Linked DNA regions of Homo sapiens: all the other regions are linked to region 2. The links are contacts of gene promoters, found by promoter capture Hi-C in human tissues and cell types (Jung and others, 2019). All regions are on one chromosome and are shown on one strand. The core of a region is centred on a gene start or on the middle of the fragment in contact, and the rest is flanking DNA. Distances in the headings are between cores, read along the strand shown. Region 1 overlaps ARPIN-AP3S2 (ARPIN-AP3S2 readthrough). Region 2 holds the start of TTLL13 (tubulin tyrosine ligase like 13). Region 3 overlaps CRTC3 (CREB regulated transcription coactivator 3). Region 4 overlaps CRTC3-AS1 (CRTC3 antisense RNA 1). Region 5 overlaps CRTC3 (CREB regulated transcription coactivator 3).

Region 1 (2,700 bases), core at 46-2,545, 380 kb before region 2:
AAACTATTTATCTCACCTTTGGCCAAGTAGCCAGTGACATCATTCTCCTATATCAAGAAATCAGTCTGTGAACAGATGAACCACGATATAGGCCTAGTAATAATCTTATGCACGTTAAAACTGTTAGTAGATCTTAGCAAAAACAAAACAAAACCCAAACTATTAAATCTATTAAATAAAACATGTTCTAGGACTATCTTAAGAGTAAAAAAAAACAAGAAACAATATGAAGATGTAGAGGTGGCTACAGATGCCCAAGGCTCTTGGTTTTCTAGTAACCCTAGTTTGGAAGAGAACTGCAAGAGAATATACCTTATCCATATGGAAGATCAAATCCAATTCACACACATTTTCGAAACACTTATCCAGAGTTTCCACAAAAACCTAGAAAACAAGGAGAAATAGATAAAGAAGAGAAATAGGAACACATTCACAGCTTTATCAATGTCACATCTGAAAGTAAAAGGGGCTGTCACAATACTATTTACTTTATGATAAATCTCAAAAATTAAAACACCTACCTTTTGTCTCCAGCATTAGCTGATCACCCTACTTATCTCGATTTAGAGGGAATAATCTAGGACAGGAAAACCTTGTTTTCAGCATAGCAACACAACCAGCAGACACATGTGGCTCTTTCCCCCTTTATAAGATGCTAATTTATGGTAGGGCATGGTGGCTCATACTTACAATCTCAGCACTTTGAGAGCCCAAGGCAGGAGGATCACTTGAGGCCAAGAGCTCACGACCAGCCTTGCTAACAAGACGAAAACCCATCTCTACTAAAAATACAAAAATTATCTGGGTGTGGCGACACGAGCCTGTTATAGTCCCAGCTACTTGGGAGGCTGAGGCACGAGAATAGCTTGAATGAGAATCATTTGAGGTGGAGGTTGCCATAAGCAGAGATCGCACCACTGCACTCCAGCCTGAGTGACAGAGTGAGAGTCTCTCAAAAAAAAAAAAAGAAAAAAGAAAAAAAATTACATAAAAGAATAACAAATTAAAAAAACCAACTACTTACAATACTATGTCCTCAATGAATACATGTACAAAAAATTTTTCATTATTACAGGGTTAACATAGCTGTGTTTTAATTTCAGCCAAAATTAACTTCAAAACATCTTCCCTTTTTAATTTTTTTGGTCAGTTATTTAGCCTACAAAATACCTTCCTATGAATAAATTTAATTGACGTGTTTACAACTTAAAATTTTTTTTTAAAAGCCCTGAGCTTACTTCTCTATAGAACCTTTTAACTTTTAATAAAACATAACAGAAAAGTGTACAAATGACAAGGGCACAGTTTAATGAATTTTCAGAATGAACACACCATGTAACTACAACCTAGGTATCTATCTATAACTGTTTAATTTCTCTCAGACAATGACCTCATTTAAACAATCTCATTGTCAGCAGTGTCATGAATTGTTCGGCACTGCATGAAAATGGGTCTTACTTGAGGCCAGCAAGTGACAGAGACCAGGCACACCGTTCCACTGTAGCACAAGATGGGTGCTCATAGGCAAACCACCCTGCAGCGGCTGCTGGGGAGACAGACCCACTTGCCATGAGGAACCAACGCACACTATTGGAGCTGATCCTGCTCTGTCTCTTCTCTATGTAAGTAAAGCTTTATCCAGTGTTTGCACTTTTTCCTTGCCGACTCTGATACCAAGATGCAATGGGCAAGAGCATTTAGATTCCTTTCTTGAGACTGGTAACCAGTGCACTGTATTTTGCCAGATACCAACCATTTTGGAAAACTATGACATTATGTATGCATGCTCTATGATCTAGGAATTCTACTCCCAGATAACATATCTAACAGATATATACATGTATGCCAAAAACCACATACAATAATTTCATATTAGTGCCATTCATAAATCTTTACATTTTTAACAGTGCCAGAATATTTCACTATAAGGACACATAGTTAAATGGGTCTATTTCTCAATCACTATGCTGGGTACTTGGTAAGCCCTTATAATCCTGCAGTTCAAGTCCTTCAGTTCTGGGAAATTTTATCGAATTATTTTGTTGAGAATTCCCTCCTTTCCACATTCCTAATCAATCTTTTTGGAGCTGCTTATATTCAAGTATTGGACCTCTGTCTGTCTTCTTTTTTTTTTTTTTTTGAGACAGACTCTCGCTCTGTTGTCCACGCTGAAGTGCAGTGCCACGATCTTGGCTCACTGCAGCCTCTGCCTCCTGGGTTCAAGCAATTCTCCTGCCTCAGCCTCCTGAGTAGCTGGGATTACAGGCATGCACCACCACGCCTGGCTAATTTTTGTATTTTTAGTAGAGACGAGGTTTCACCATGTTGGCCAGGCTGATATCCAATTCCTGACCTTAAGTGATCCCCCTGTCTTGGCCTACCAAAGTGCTGGGGTTACAGACGTGAGCCACTGTGCCCGGCCTCTGTCTTATTTTCTCATCTTTTCTCTCCCATTTTCCATCTCTGCCCATTCTGAGACAATTGATTAACTTGATTTTCTAATACTTCAGTTGAAGTGGGTTTTTGTTTGTTTCCATTTCCTCTCATTTTTTATTTCTAAGAGACCATTTTGTTCATTTTGTGTGAGCAACAAGGCTGTGAGTGTTTTTGTTTAGCACCCATTTAGCAATAAGACATAAATGGGTCTTATTTTATTTCTAATTAATAAATGGGTCTTATTATTATTTAAAATAAATGTCT
Region 2 (2,700 bases), core at 186-2,685:
CCTCTTAACTCCCATGCTCAAGAGATCCTCACACCTCAGTCTTCCTAGTAGCTGGGACTACAGGGCCTGCCACCTAGCCTTGCTGATTCTATGAAAGATTTTGAGGAGATGAGGAAGGCTGGTATCTTTCAAAGTGCAAAGTGATTTTGGTATAAACAGTTTCTTTGGGTTGCATTACATAGAAGTTTATCACTAACCTATGTTCCTGAACTATGAAACATGAATATGTGGGCAAAGAAATAGCTTATCTTTATAGACAATTAACAACAACAAAAACAGTCTATGAATTAGAGAATGTCCATGCCTTTTTTAGGCCGAGTTCAGTGGTTCATGCCTGTAATCCCACCACTTTGGGAAGCCAAGGTGGGCAGGTCACTTGAGGTCAGGAGTTCAAGATCAGCCTGGCCAACACAGCAAAACCCCATCTCTACAAAAAATACAAAAATTAGCCAGGCATGGTGGTGCGCACCTGTAGCCCCAGCTACTTGGGACGCTGAAGTGGGAGGATTGCTTGAGCCTGGGAAGCTAAGTAAAGTTGCAGTGAGCTGCGATCACACCACTGCAATCCAGCCTGGGCTACAAAGCAAGACCCTGTCTCAAAAAAAAAAAAAAAAAAAAAAAAAAAAAAAAAAAAAAAAGTCCATGTCTTTTTAAAAGGATGGAAACATTTTAAGTGTTCTCTAGATTTAGCCACACAGTATAATTTTAGGGTGACAAGTTGAGCTGAGTTGGGTGGAGGTGGTGAGCAGAAATCAAAGTGGGTGGATGTCAGGAAGAGAAGGTGACAGTGAAGGAGCACTGTGATAAGGCGGTTTGGTTATTCCTTAATGGAGCTGTCTCAGTCCACCAGAGGCAAAGCCTTGAAAGGCACGTGGCCTTACCATGGCTGTCACTCTTGAATGCATAGGCTTTGCTAGCTAAACTTAGAGTTACTAAAGAATTGAGCCCGGCGTGGTGGCACGCTCCTGTAGTCACAGCTACTGGGGAGGCTGAGGCAGGAGGATTGCTTGAGCCCAGGAGGTCCAGGCTGCAGTGAGCTATGATGGTGCATTCCACTGCACTCCAGCCTGGGCGACACAGCAAGACCCCGTCTCAAAAAAAAAAAAAAAAAAAAAAAGGGAGAATTGAGGAGAGGCAAACAGCTATTTGTCCTCATTATATGCTTGGCCAAATTCCTTGGCCCGGGGTTTAGGGAAAGATGGGAGTGCGGCGAGAACTGGCTTCGAAGCGGGAGGGCTGCAAGTCCCATGATACACCGGAAGAATCTGGCGTCGAGGCCGGCCAGCTCCAAAGGGCAAACGCTGTCTCCCCCACCCAAGGTAGCCTCGGCCCGCGCCCAAGTGGGTGTGGCTGCGGGAAAGCCCCGCCCCCAGGACGCTTCTCCAATGGGAACTGCCCTCGTGTCCATGGCAACGGCGGCGGCCACGGGCTTGCTAGAGGAAGCGCTGCCCCGGCAGCCGCAGCCACGGCCACCGGGAGCTAGGAGTGAACCCCTGCGGGGGAGCAGCTTCCCCCTCGCGATCGTGGGGACAGCCAGTCCTGTGAAACGAGGAGGCGGTTCCGGACGCCCAGAAACGCCCAGGGAGACCTGGAGCCGGGGGAAGAGGGGACATGAGCGGCCAGCTGAGTCCATCCCCAGGCGGCTAGGGGCGGACCCAGCAGCCCCTCAGCTCTCCTCGTAACCACGGGTGGGCAGTCTCCACCGTCACAGCCCAAAGGGTCTTAGCCATCGGGTGCCTGTCCCTAGTGTGTACACGTGCAGAAAATGAGTCCTGGGAGAGGGAAAGGGCCAGCGTAGGGGGCTTTTGGTCTTCAGCTGTATTTTATTTTATTTATTTATTTATTTATTTATTTAGAGACAGACTCTTGCTCTGTCGCCCAGGCTGGAGTGCAGTGGTGTGATCTCGGCTCACTGCAACCTCCACCTCCCAGGTTCAAGTGATTCTCCTCCCTCAGCCTCCCGAGTAGCTGGGATTACAGGCAACGCACCAGCACACCCAGCTAATTTTTGTATTTTTAGGAGAGACGGGATTTCACCGTGCTAGCCAGGCTGCTCTCCAACTCCAGACCTCAAGTGATCTGCCCGCCTCAGCCTCCCAACGTGCTGGGCCGATTCAGCTGTATTTTAAAGCGAAGGTCCCCCCAGCACTCACAGCCATCCTCTTTCCCAATTAGGAACAAAAGAGCCATGGTCATGGCCCATACCATCTGTGTCCAACTCCTGAAGGCACCCCTGTGCGTTGTATGATCCAGTGTGAACCTGGATGATTGGGGCTTGTCATCAGGGAATCCACATCTCACTGGTGTCTTCCACCCCCATGCACCTCCACCTACCTGGACACATCCCATTCCTCAGTGAAACAGTTTTGTCCTGAAGGGGCAGCAACTTTCCCTTATAACAGCATGAAGGTCGTTCTGGTGGATTCCTTCAGGCCTTCTAGGGCCTGAGGGAGGTCTGAGGTCTGATATACACTTCATTCCCACCCCGCAACCCCTCAGAATCTGAGAGAATGGAGCCGAGTACCTGTAGGACCATGGAATCAGAGGAAGACTATGTTGAGGAAAAGGAATCTGAGAAGTGTGTTAAAGAGGGAGTTACCAACCCCTCTAACTCTTCACAGCAGGCTCTCTTAAAAGCTGACTATAAGGCATTAAAAAATGGGGTTCCCTCACCCATTATGGCCACAAAAATTCCGAAGA
Region 3 (2,700 bases), core at 127-2,626, 330 kb after region 2:
TTTAAAGTTATCAACAGTGTGAAAAAAAGTTGTTTTGTTGGCTGGCTGTATGGTAGAAAACACAGCCTTCATCTCTTTTTTTGGCATATATGTAGAAGTTATTGAGTTAAAACTGAAAAGGCACCTTTAATTTATGACAGTATCATAACTTTAATTAAAAAATCAAACTTGTTATTTGGAAATGTAAAATCTTCCCCAAAGTAGAATAAAGAACCCCCATAGACTCATCACCAGATTCAATATTTTTCAACATTTTGCCACTCTTGTTTCATCTGTCCCCTCCCCTTTGTTTTTTCTCTTTTAATTCCAAATTACAATCTCTTCTAAACTCAGTGAAGTGTCCTACCAAGTTGAATCACAGCGGTGGATCTGGTGTGATTCAGAATGCAGTGGGGGTGAAAGGAGGGAGTCGGCAGGCTGACAGGTGCCTGTCTTTTACATATATTTCCTACGGCAGGAAGAGGTTGGTGTGGGATGAACAGAGGCTCAGGCACTTTGTCTCCTTTCCTGCTTGGCCTGAAGTGCCTACCTGACCCTTGTGGCCTCCAAGGGTGCCTTTGGCCAGTTGCCTTACCAGCCACTAGGCCGGACTCCTGCCACTGCTCAAGTCTTAGTTGATCAAAAGCCAGTTCTTCCCTTCTGCAGTTCCTTTCTATCACCATAAGAAGCAAATCAGCTTCCTCTGGAGGAGATAAATGGGCAAACCTGATTTACCCAGAACATATTTCTCTAGTCATTGTCTTATTAGCATTAAAGTTAAAAGGAGAACTACACTCAACGGAAGGCCTCCCTCACCACCCAAAGATATCACACCAGGTGGGGAGGTGGGGATGGGAACAGGCAGTTTAAAACTTCTACTTCTGTGGAGGCTTGGGTGGCGCTCTGTGGAAAGACAGTAAAGTGCCTTTAGAGGCTTGGGTCTGCATTCACCCTGCTATGCCATCCCTGAGAACTTGAAGCTGAAATTCTTCATTTTATCGTGGAAATTTGTAGCTGTACAGAAAAGTAGGAGTAGAATAAGAAGCTCCCATATAGCCCTCACCAGTTTTTAATAACGATCAACACTTTGCATTTAAACTTTTTGATTATGCAGCCTAGTAGTAAAAAGAGTTTTATATCCCCAATTTGGGTATGTTCTTTGTTTTTTAAATTATGTACATATAACACTGTATTGTTAATATTAAGTATACAAAAAAATAGAAAGCTAAGTGGAAACAGAACTTCTAATGTTTTCCCCATACCCTATGCCATCCTGTAAATCCCCTGGGGGTACACATTCCTCTTTGGAGCCAAATCATTTAGAAACATTATGTAATTCAGCAAACACGTGTTGGAGCCCACTGTGTGGCTGACGCTGTGCAAATGCTGGAGGGAAGATGCTGGGGGAGGTCTCACTGCTTACAGCCTGCTCCATCAGGGTCAGGGAATGAACATGATCCATCTTCTCCAGGTGAGAAGCTCTGCCTGAGACATAGACCTTATTCTCTGCCTTTTCTTGAGCAGGATCCCCCAGCATGAACTCTGGGCGTGTTTTATGCATTGTCGTTATTTCTTCTTCTTTTTTTTTAGAGATGGGGTCTCATTATGTTGCCCAGGCTGGCCTCCTATTCTTGAGCTCAAGCGATCCTCCCACCTCGGCCTCCCAAAGTGCTGGGATTACACGTGTGAGCCACCACCACACCCAGCCATTATTTCTTATTTTGAGAAATTATTTTGCCTGGCCCTCTGTGATCATTTTGATTGGTCTGATTTTGACTTTACCTGCTAAAAACAAAACAACCCCAAAACTGTTTTATCTCTATCATTTTCTGGAGTCACCTTTTAACTTAGTTTATCTGTTAACTTTACTTCCCTTTTATCTTTCATTTAAAAATACAGACTAGGAAGGGGCAACACAAGGGCCACAGACATGGTGATAGGCCAGGTCCTAAATCAGCAGGTTGGGTGCTGGTGCCTTCTCTGGTCTGTTCTGCTCTTCATCTCTTCTTTTCATGCCTCACAGCAAGACTTATTTGGTCCTTTGGAGAAGATTGGATCCCCAGATCAGCTGGTCAAAAAAGGCATAGCCTCCAGGTTAAAAACAAACAAAAAACCCATCTAGGTGGTTCAAGGGCTCTGAAAGTCTAATCACTTCTGCGAGACTGGAATAGACTAGCCCCAAAGATAGTGTAGTGCTGGCAGGCTGCTGGGGGAAAAGCCTTCCAAAACCCAGAACAGCTGGGAGCCTCACAGGAGTTTTGTGAACTGAAGCCCCTGCCTGCTGGCATACCTAAGCACTGCAGAGGGCAAAGGAAGAGTGTTGGGGGCTGCTGTCAGAGAGGCTGGCTGGGTGCTGGCAGGTCTGACGCTGGAGATTTGTTATACATTTTGAACTTCTCTTGAAGTTTCTCTTTTCTTTTTTTTTTGAATGATGTTATAATAGGGTATTTAACCAAGTATGACATCCTTTTTTATTCCGCTTAGTTTGTAAGGTAGACTTAAATGATCCATTTAACCCCAAGGCAGTGTGAATTAATAGCAGCCCCTTTGTTGTGGACAGGCCTTCACGACTCCCCCACTTGTCATGAGAATCAAAGGAGGTGCTGGCAGTGCCTAGAATGATCTCCAGCTGGGTTCCCAAGAGAGGCACAGTTGTTCCTTTGTTATTTAGACTTGTCCTTTTTAAAAGAGGGGGGCTATAACATCTTCCATTAGCTTCAG
Region 4 (2,700 bases), core at 57-2,556, 420 kb after region 2:
TTGCCAGAACTCAACCATGCTGGCACCACAATCTCATTCCAGACTCCAGAATGTGAGAAAGTGCATTTCTGTTGTTTATAAGCCTATGGGAGTCTAAAGCAACCTGAATGGACTAAAATAGGTGATGAGAAAGTAAAGCACAGAGTGCATATGAAACTTTCTAGACACTTGAACATGACGCTGTCCTGGGAGCCCTTTGGTTATATTCTCCTCCAAAAGCCCAAAGACCCTGTAGTACCATCACACAGCTATTTTGTTTTGCATATTTTTCTGGAAAAAAGGATAAAACAAATTATGACTGCGTATGATTCAAAGTCCCACCAAAATCTGTATGCCCCTTTCTCACAAAGACACATTTTACATCTTTGTTACAAAATTAATATGGGTTCTTTTTCTGAAAGTTCCTAGGATAACTCTTGTCCTCAAATTGTGCCAATTACTGAACAGAGAGGGTTCTGCCTTAAATGAGGAAATGGAATTATGATTGGAACACGTCATTGCTGATTATCGCTGCTCCCAAAAGAAGATGTAAAGAGGTTCAGGTTCCTTCCTTTTGTTTCATTTGTTTGCTTGTTTGTTGAGACAGTGTCTCAGACAGGCTGGAGCGCAGTGGCACGATCATGGCTTAACTCCCTGCAACCTCGAACTCCCAGGCTTAGGTGATCCTCCCTCCTCAGCCTCCTGAGTAGCTGGGACTACAAGTGCACGCCATCACACCTGGCTAATTTGTGTATTTTTTTGTAGAGATGGGATTTCGCCATGTTCCCCAGGCTGGTCTTGAACTCCTGGGCTCAATGGATCTTCCCGCCTCAGCCTCCCAAAGTGCTGGGATTACAGGAGTGAGCCACCTCATCAAGCCCAACCCCCTCCCTTTGAAATAGACTGGTTGTGGATACTCTGTCGGTTCCCCAAGAGGATGGAGAATCCAGTTCTCCCTGGATATATTTTTGTAAAGTACACCAAAGGAGAGGACTAAAGCCACTGTAGAAATAACCAGGGCTGTATGATGTTGTAGAGAGAAAAAGGAAAGTAGAATGAACCCTTAGGACTGGTGTATAGGTTTCTTGGTGTCTTGACATTTCCACCACATTTCTTATTTTAAAGAAACTGAAAAAGTGGTGGACATAGAGAAGGGAGCGCTTCCTGGCTTACGCCGAAGGAGAGCGGAGAGACAGGTGGCAGGAGGGGGAGATGGAGTCCAGGGAGCCCGCCCTTCCTTCCTTCCTTCCTTCCTTCCTTCCTTCCTTCCTTCCTTCCTTCCTTCCCTCCTTCCTTCCTTCCCTCCTTCCTTCCTTCCCTCCCTCCCTCTTTCTTCAGAGTCTTGCTCTGCCGCCAAAGCTGGAGTGCAGTGGTATGATCTCAGCTCACTGCAACCTCCACCTCGCGGGTTCAAGCGATTCTCCCGCCTCAGACTCCCTAGTAACTGGGACTACGGGCGTGTGCCACCACACCTAATTTTTGTATTGTTAGTAGAGATGGGGTTTCACCACATTGGCCAGGCTGGTCTCGAACTCCTGACCTCAAGAGATCCGCCCACCTCGGCCTCCCAAAGTGCAGGGATTACAGGTGTGAGCCACCGCGCCTGGCCCCAGGGAACACCTTTCATGGAAAAGACGAGCATATTTAAATGCTGACACACTGTGGGCAGAGAGTCTGGAGACAGTGGGAGAGACCTGGTTTTGCGGTTCTAGGCCAATAGGAGGGGTGGGATTGAGAGCCCAGGAGCAGGGACTGGCCTTCGAGAGAAAGGGGTGAGCATTCAAGCAGGGTGTCTGGTGAGGGCTGGGAGGGAGAGATCAGGAAGTTGAAGGAACTCTCATCTGATGGATTCTCTTTGTTCTGTGCAATAGGAAGAGAGGGGTTAGTGATGGCAGAGGGATGGGAGGGATGCTGAGCTGACAGAAGGTTTAGAAAAGCTGGTAGGAGGAAGGGAGAAAGAGCCGGCCAGGGAGGTAGAGCAGGCTGGTAGGAAGCGTCACAGGCACTGTGGGTGTTCCCCCAGTATTCATCTTCTCTTCTTCCACGGCGATGGAATATCACTGGTCACTCAAAGACCAAGGGACAAGGGTTGGGTTTTTTATTTTGTTTATGTGCTTGTTTTTTTTTTTCCCCAGCCCAAACATGTTTATCATGAACTCCCTTTTCAGAGCAATGAGAAGCCTCAACATACTTCTTTTTTTTTTTCTTCTGAGAGAGGGTCTCACTCTGTCTCCAAGGCTGGAGTACCGGCATGATCATGGCTTATACAGACTTGACCTCTGGGATCAAGCAATTCTCCCACCTCAGCCTCCCAAAGTGCTGGGATTACAGGCATGAGTCACCACGCCTGGCCCCCAACACACTTCTTGACAGAGTCTGTGGTATCTGCAACCTGAGAATACACACAAAATGCCCAAGCGTTATTCTCTGCACCAAGGCTGCATTTCCCAGGACTCTGACCCCATTTGCAAAAAGAGTCCAGCAGCAGTGAAGGGCCCAGTCTAAGGTGTCACTATTCATCTCATGGCTACCCTGGAAGGAGAGGGGGGCTCTGCACTACAGGATGGTGTGAATTTTGCCCAGCACTATGTTTTTAATATTCATGTATACTGACTTTTCTTTTTATTAAAAAAGTGGGCTGGGCTCGGTGGCTCACGCCTGTAATCCCAGCACTTTGGGAGGCCGAGGCGGGCGGATCACCTGAAGTCGGGAGTTTGAGAC
Region 5 (2,700 bases), core at 174-2,673, 350 kb after region 2:
TTTTCATGTTGTTAATATCAGGAAGGTTAAAATGCTAACTTACACCTCAACATTGAAATCACCAGCGTTTGATGATTACGTGACTATTACACCACTGCATTCTAATTTGTATTATCAGTACTATGAGATCAGAGATACTGAGTTTAAAGATGGCAGTGTACTGAGAAAAATGGTAAACTTCTACTTCCTGAAATTAAGCGTTTCTGAACAGAGATTCATCAAATCTGCAGAAAAGAGAAAGGCAGATAACCGTAGGTTCTGAGGCTCGGTGTTTCCTCCCTAATGGCTTTGCCAACAGAAATACTGACAGGTTTTGTCTGTCACGGGCCTTACTATTTATCACCTTTTCCTCTCCTACCTCCTACTGTGGTCTTGCCTCATCTGTACTTCATGTACCTTAAGCCTAATAGTGAATGTTGAAGAAATGTCTCTCTTTGGAAATTATCTGTTTTATTTTATTGATTTAAGGTCAAATTAAGAAATAAGATAATGAGACTTGTCAAAGAAAACGAATACATAGAAGATGAAACTTGCAATCCTAATGCCTCTCCTGGCAAAGAAGACATTTCCCACCAAATCACTAAGAACTCATGAGAGCCTCCGTTTTCCTAATTCCAGATTCTGTATTTATTTGAGCTGCCCAGCCCAGGCCTGCAGGATAGGGCCCCACTCCATCAAGGCTCCTGTTTCCTCCTGAGCCCGAGCAGATGGTACCTTCTCTTATAGCCTCCATCCTTCCCAGAACACTCCAGGTACTATTTTCTATTTTCTGGGGGCATTTGGCATAGTTCACTGTTTCCTGAGAGGCAGCATAGCTTAGCGGAGAGCTCTCAGGCTTTGGTGTCAGTGATTTGTGGGTCTGACCCCTGATCCACCAGGCGTGCTATCTGATCTTGGATTTCTCAGCTCTTCTAGAACTGAGCCTCAGTTTCTTCAGCTATAAAATGGGGAAAATATCTGCCTCTCAGGATTGAGGTTAAATAAAGTGTGAACTCAGCACAGGCCTGGCACACAGTAGGTGCTTAGATATCTGTTTTCAAATTTCTGTCTTAATGTGTAGTTTGTATCTTCTTTATTATTTCCACCTTAAGAAATAAAAGTTTGGGATGAAAAGTATTATTGGTAACTGCCGAATGTATATTTAATCCAATCAGTGATCCAGGAGACAAAAGGAATGGGCTTGGTTTGGGTGAGTGATAAGGAGGCAACCTTCCACATAGGAGGTGAGAAAGGGGAAATGGCCTTAGCAAAGGCAGAGGGGCAGGAAAATACAGGCTGTGTTTGTGGAACTCAGAAAGCTGGAGGGAAGACAAGAGCAGAAGAGACCATTGTCCCCAAATTGTGGATCACCGCAATTACTAAGCCAGTAAGTTTTGATTTTGCCTTTTAGGCTGAACAAAATCATTGAAGATTTCTTAGCAGAATAATATGATTAACAGTGTCTTCAGAAGGCTATTGTGTGGGAACAATTAACTAAACGAATGAAAACAGCGCCCCTCTGCTCGGTGTGTAGTGCAGCATCCCATTTGTGTCTCCGTGCGTCCAGAATATGCTCCAAGGCATGGTAGACCCAGTGAACAACACAAGACTGATAAGACAGTGCCCCCAACAACACTGGAAAGTTTACCTTTCTTCACACATCTAATGCGCCTCTTTTTTGGTTATAAATACCAGGAACCGCCGGGCGCAGTGGCTCACACCTCTAATCCCAGCAATTTGGGAGGCCGAGGTGGGTGGATCACCTGAGGTCAGGAGTTCAAGACCAGCCTGGCCAACGTGGAGAAACCCTGTCTCTAATTAAAAAAAATACAAAATTAGCCGGGTGTGGTGGCGCATGCCTGTAATCCCAGCTACTCGGGAGGCTGAGGCAGGAGAATTGCTTGAACCTGGGAGGTGGAGGTTGCAGTGAGCCGAGATTGCGCCATTGCACTCCAGCCTGGGCCAAAAAAAAGAGTGAAACTCCGTCTCAAAAAATAAATAAGTACCAGGAACCCACCTTAACTTAAAAAAAGAAAATGTATTGGCATATGTCACTGGAAGCCCAAGGGCTAGATCCAAGGGGTCATACAATGTCATTGAGACCTACCTCTGTGGTACCACTTCTGAGATGACTTCAGGCATAACAGACAGGCTTTCTCCAAGGTGAAGACCCCCAGGTTCAGACGGCCCTTGGGCTTACCAGCCCTATTGGGGCACTCCTTTTTTTTCCACTCAAAAGCACTCTCCTTGGTTCTGTTTGCGTCGTGAGCCGATCCCTGAGCCAAACACTGTTTCCAGGGGGTGAGGTACCTAGACTAGAATCCTGGGCCTGGGTCCCTCACATGTGGCACAGAGGGAATGGCAGTGTTACCAGGTTTGGAGCAAGAGTGGAGACAGTTCCTGAAAACAAAAGTTGCCGGACAGGCAAAAAATAATAAACACCCCACAAAAAATCATGCAAAGAAAACACCGGTTAGAAGACAGCAGAATAGACTTGTCCTCAAGGAGGGAGATAAGAGAAAGCATGAAGGAAGAGCTGTCAGGTACAGGGATAAGGAACCAAAAACTCAGTTGTTTAACTCTCTGTGAGTCCACCTTGTTAATTCTGCTTCATCTTTCCATTAATTTTTATTTTTCCTTTATTAAAAATTCTACTTTGATGGTAGTGCTTTTGGAGCCAATTATTCCTCACAGCCTCTGGATGAGAGTTGGCCAAGGTAA

The links. Contacts are between HindIII fragments. The study calls those that stand out against the background at their distance.
Region 1: a fragment that was not itself captured here is called in contact with the fragment with the promoter of TTLL13 in region 2 in 1 of the 25 tissues and cell types used here (dorsolateral prefrontal cortex).
Region 3: a fragment that was not itself captured here is called in contact with the fragment with the promoter of TTLL13 in region 2 in 1 of the 25 tissues and cell types used here (H1 embryonic stem cells).
Region 4: a contact is called between a fragment that was not itself captured here and the fragment with the promoter of TTLL13 in region 2, in 1 of the 25 tissues and cell types used here (pancreas).
Region 5: a fragment that was not itself captured here is called in contact with the fragment with the promoter of TTLL13 in region 2 in 1 of the 25 tissues and cell types used here (aorta).

Annotation. Positions count from the first base shown.
Region 1 is chr15:89,871,163-89,873,862 of GRCh38, forward strand. ARPIN-AP3S2 (ARPIN-AP3S2 readthrough) reads right to left here. Exons shown (of 10, transcript NM_001199058.2): 8 at 313-384. It overlaps AP3S2 (adaptor related protein complex 3 subunit sigma 2), which reads right to left. Exons shown (of 6, transcript NM_005829.5): 4 at 313-384. Among named protein-coding and RNA genes, the nearest start is that of MIR5009, 12 kb to the right of the region's middle. The HindIII fragment of the contact is 7,631 bases long and covers 1-2,700 here.
Region 2 is chr15:90,248,121-90,250,820 of GRCh38, forward strand. TTLL13 (tubulin tyrosine ligase like 13) reads left to right here and starts at 1,436. Exons shown (of 15, transcript NM_001396017.1): 1 at 1,436-1,688; 2 at 2,500-2,700. The coding sequence starts at 2,511. It also overlaps a transcript of CIB1 not described here. The HindIII fragment of the contact is 10,980 bases long and covers 1-2,700 here.
Region 3 is chr15:90,581,454-90,584,153 of GRCh38, forward strand. The region is part of intron 2 of CRTC3 (CREB regulated transcription coactivator 3); the gene reads left to right. Among named protein-coding and RNA genes, the nearest start is that of CRTC3, 53 kb to the left of the region's middle. RefSeq lists enhancers at 1,872-2,383, 2,384-2,700. The HindIII fragment of the contact is 4,580 bases long and covers 1-2,700 here.
Region 4 is chr15:90,672,331-90,675,030 of GRCh38, forward strand. The region is part of intron 2 of CRTC3-AS1 (CRTC3 antisense RNA 1); the gene reads right to left. Among named protein-coding and RNA genes, the nearest start is that of LINC01585, 13 kb to the left of the region's middle. The HindIII fragment of the contact is 6,170 bases long and covers 1-2,700 here.
Region 5 is chr15:90,599,690-90,602,389 of GRCh38, forward strand. It overlaps CRTC3 (CREB regulated transcription coactivator 3), which reads left to right. Exons shown (of 15, transcript NM_022769.5): 4 at 2,635-2,696. LOC124903554 (a long non-coding RNA gene) reads left to right here. Exons shown (of 2, transcript XR_007064756.1): 2 at 619-1,116. Among named protein-coding and RNA genes, the nearest start is that of LINC01585, 59 kb to the right of the region's middle. The HindIII fragment of the contact is 8,040 bases long and covers 1-2,700 here.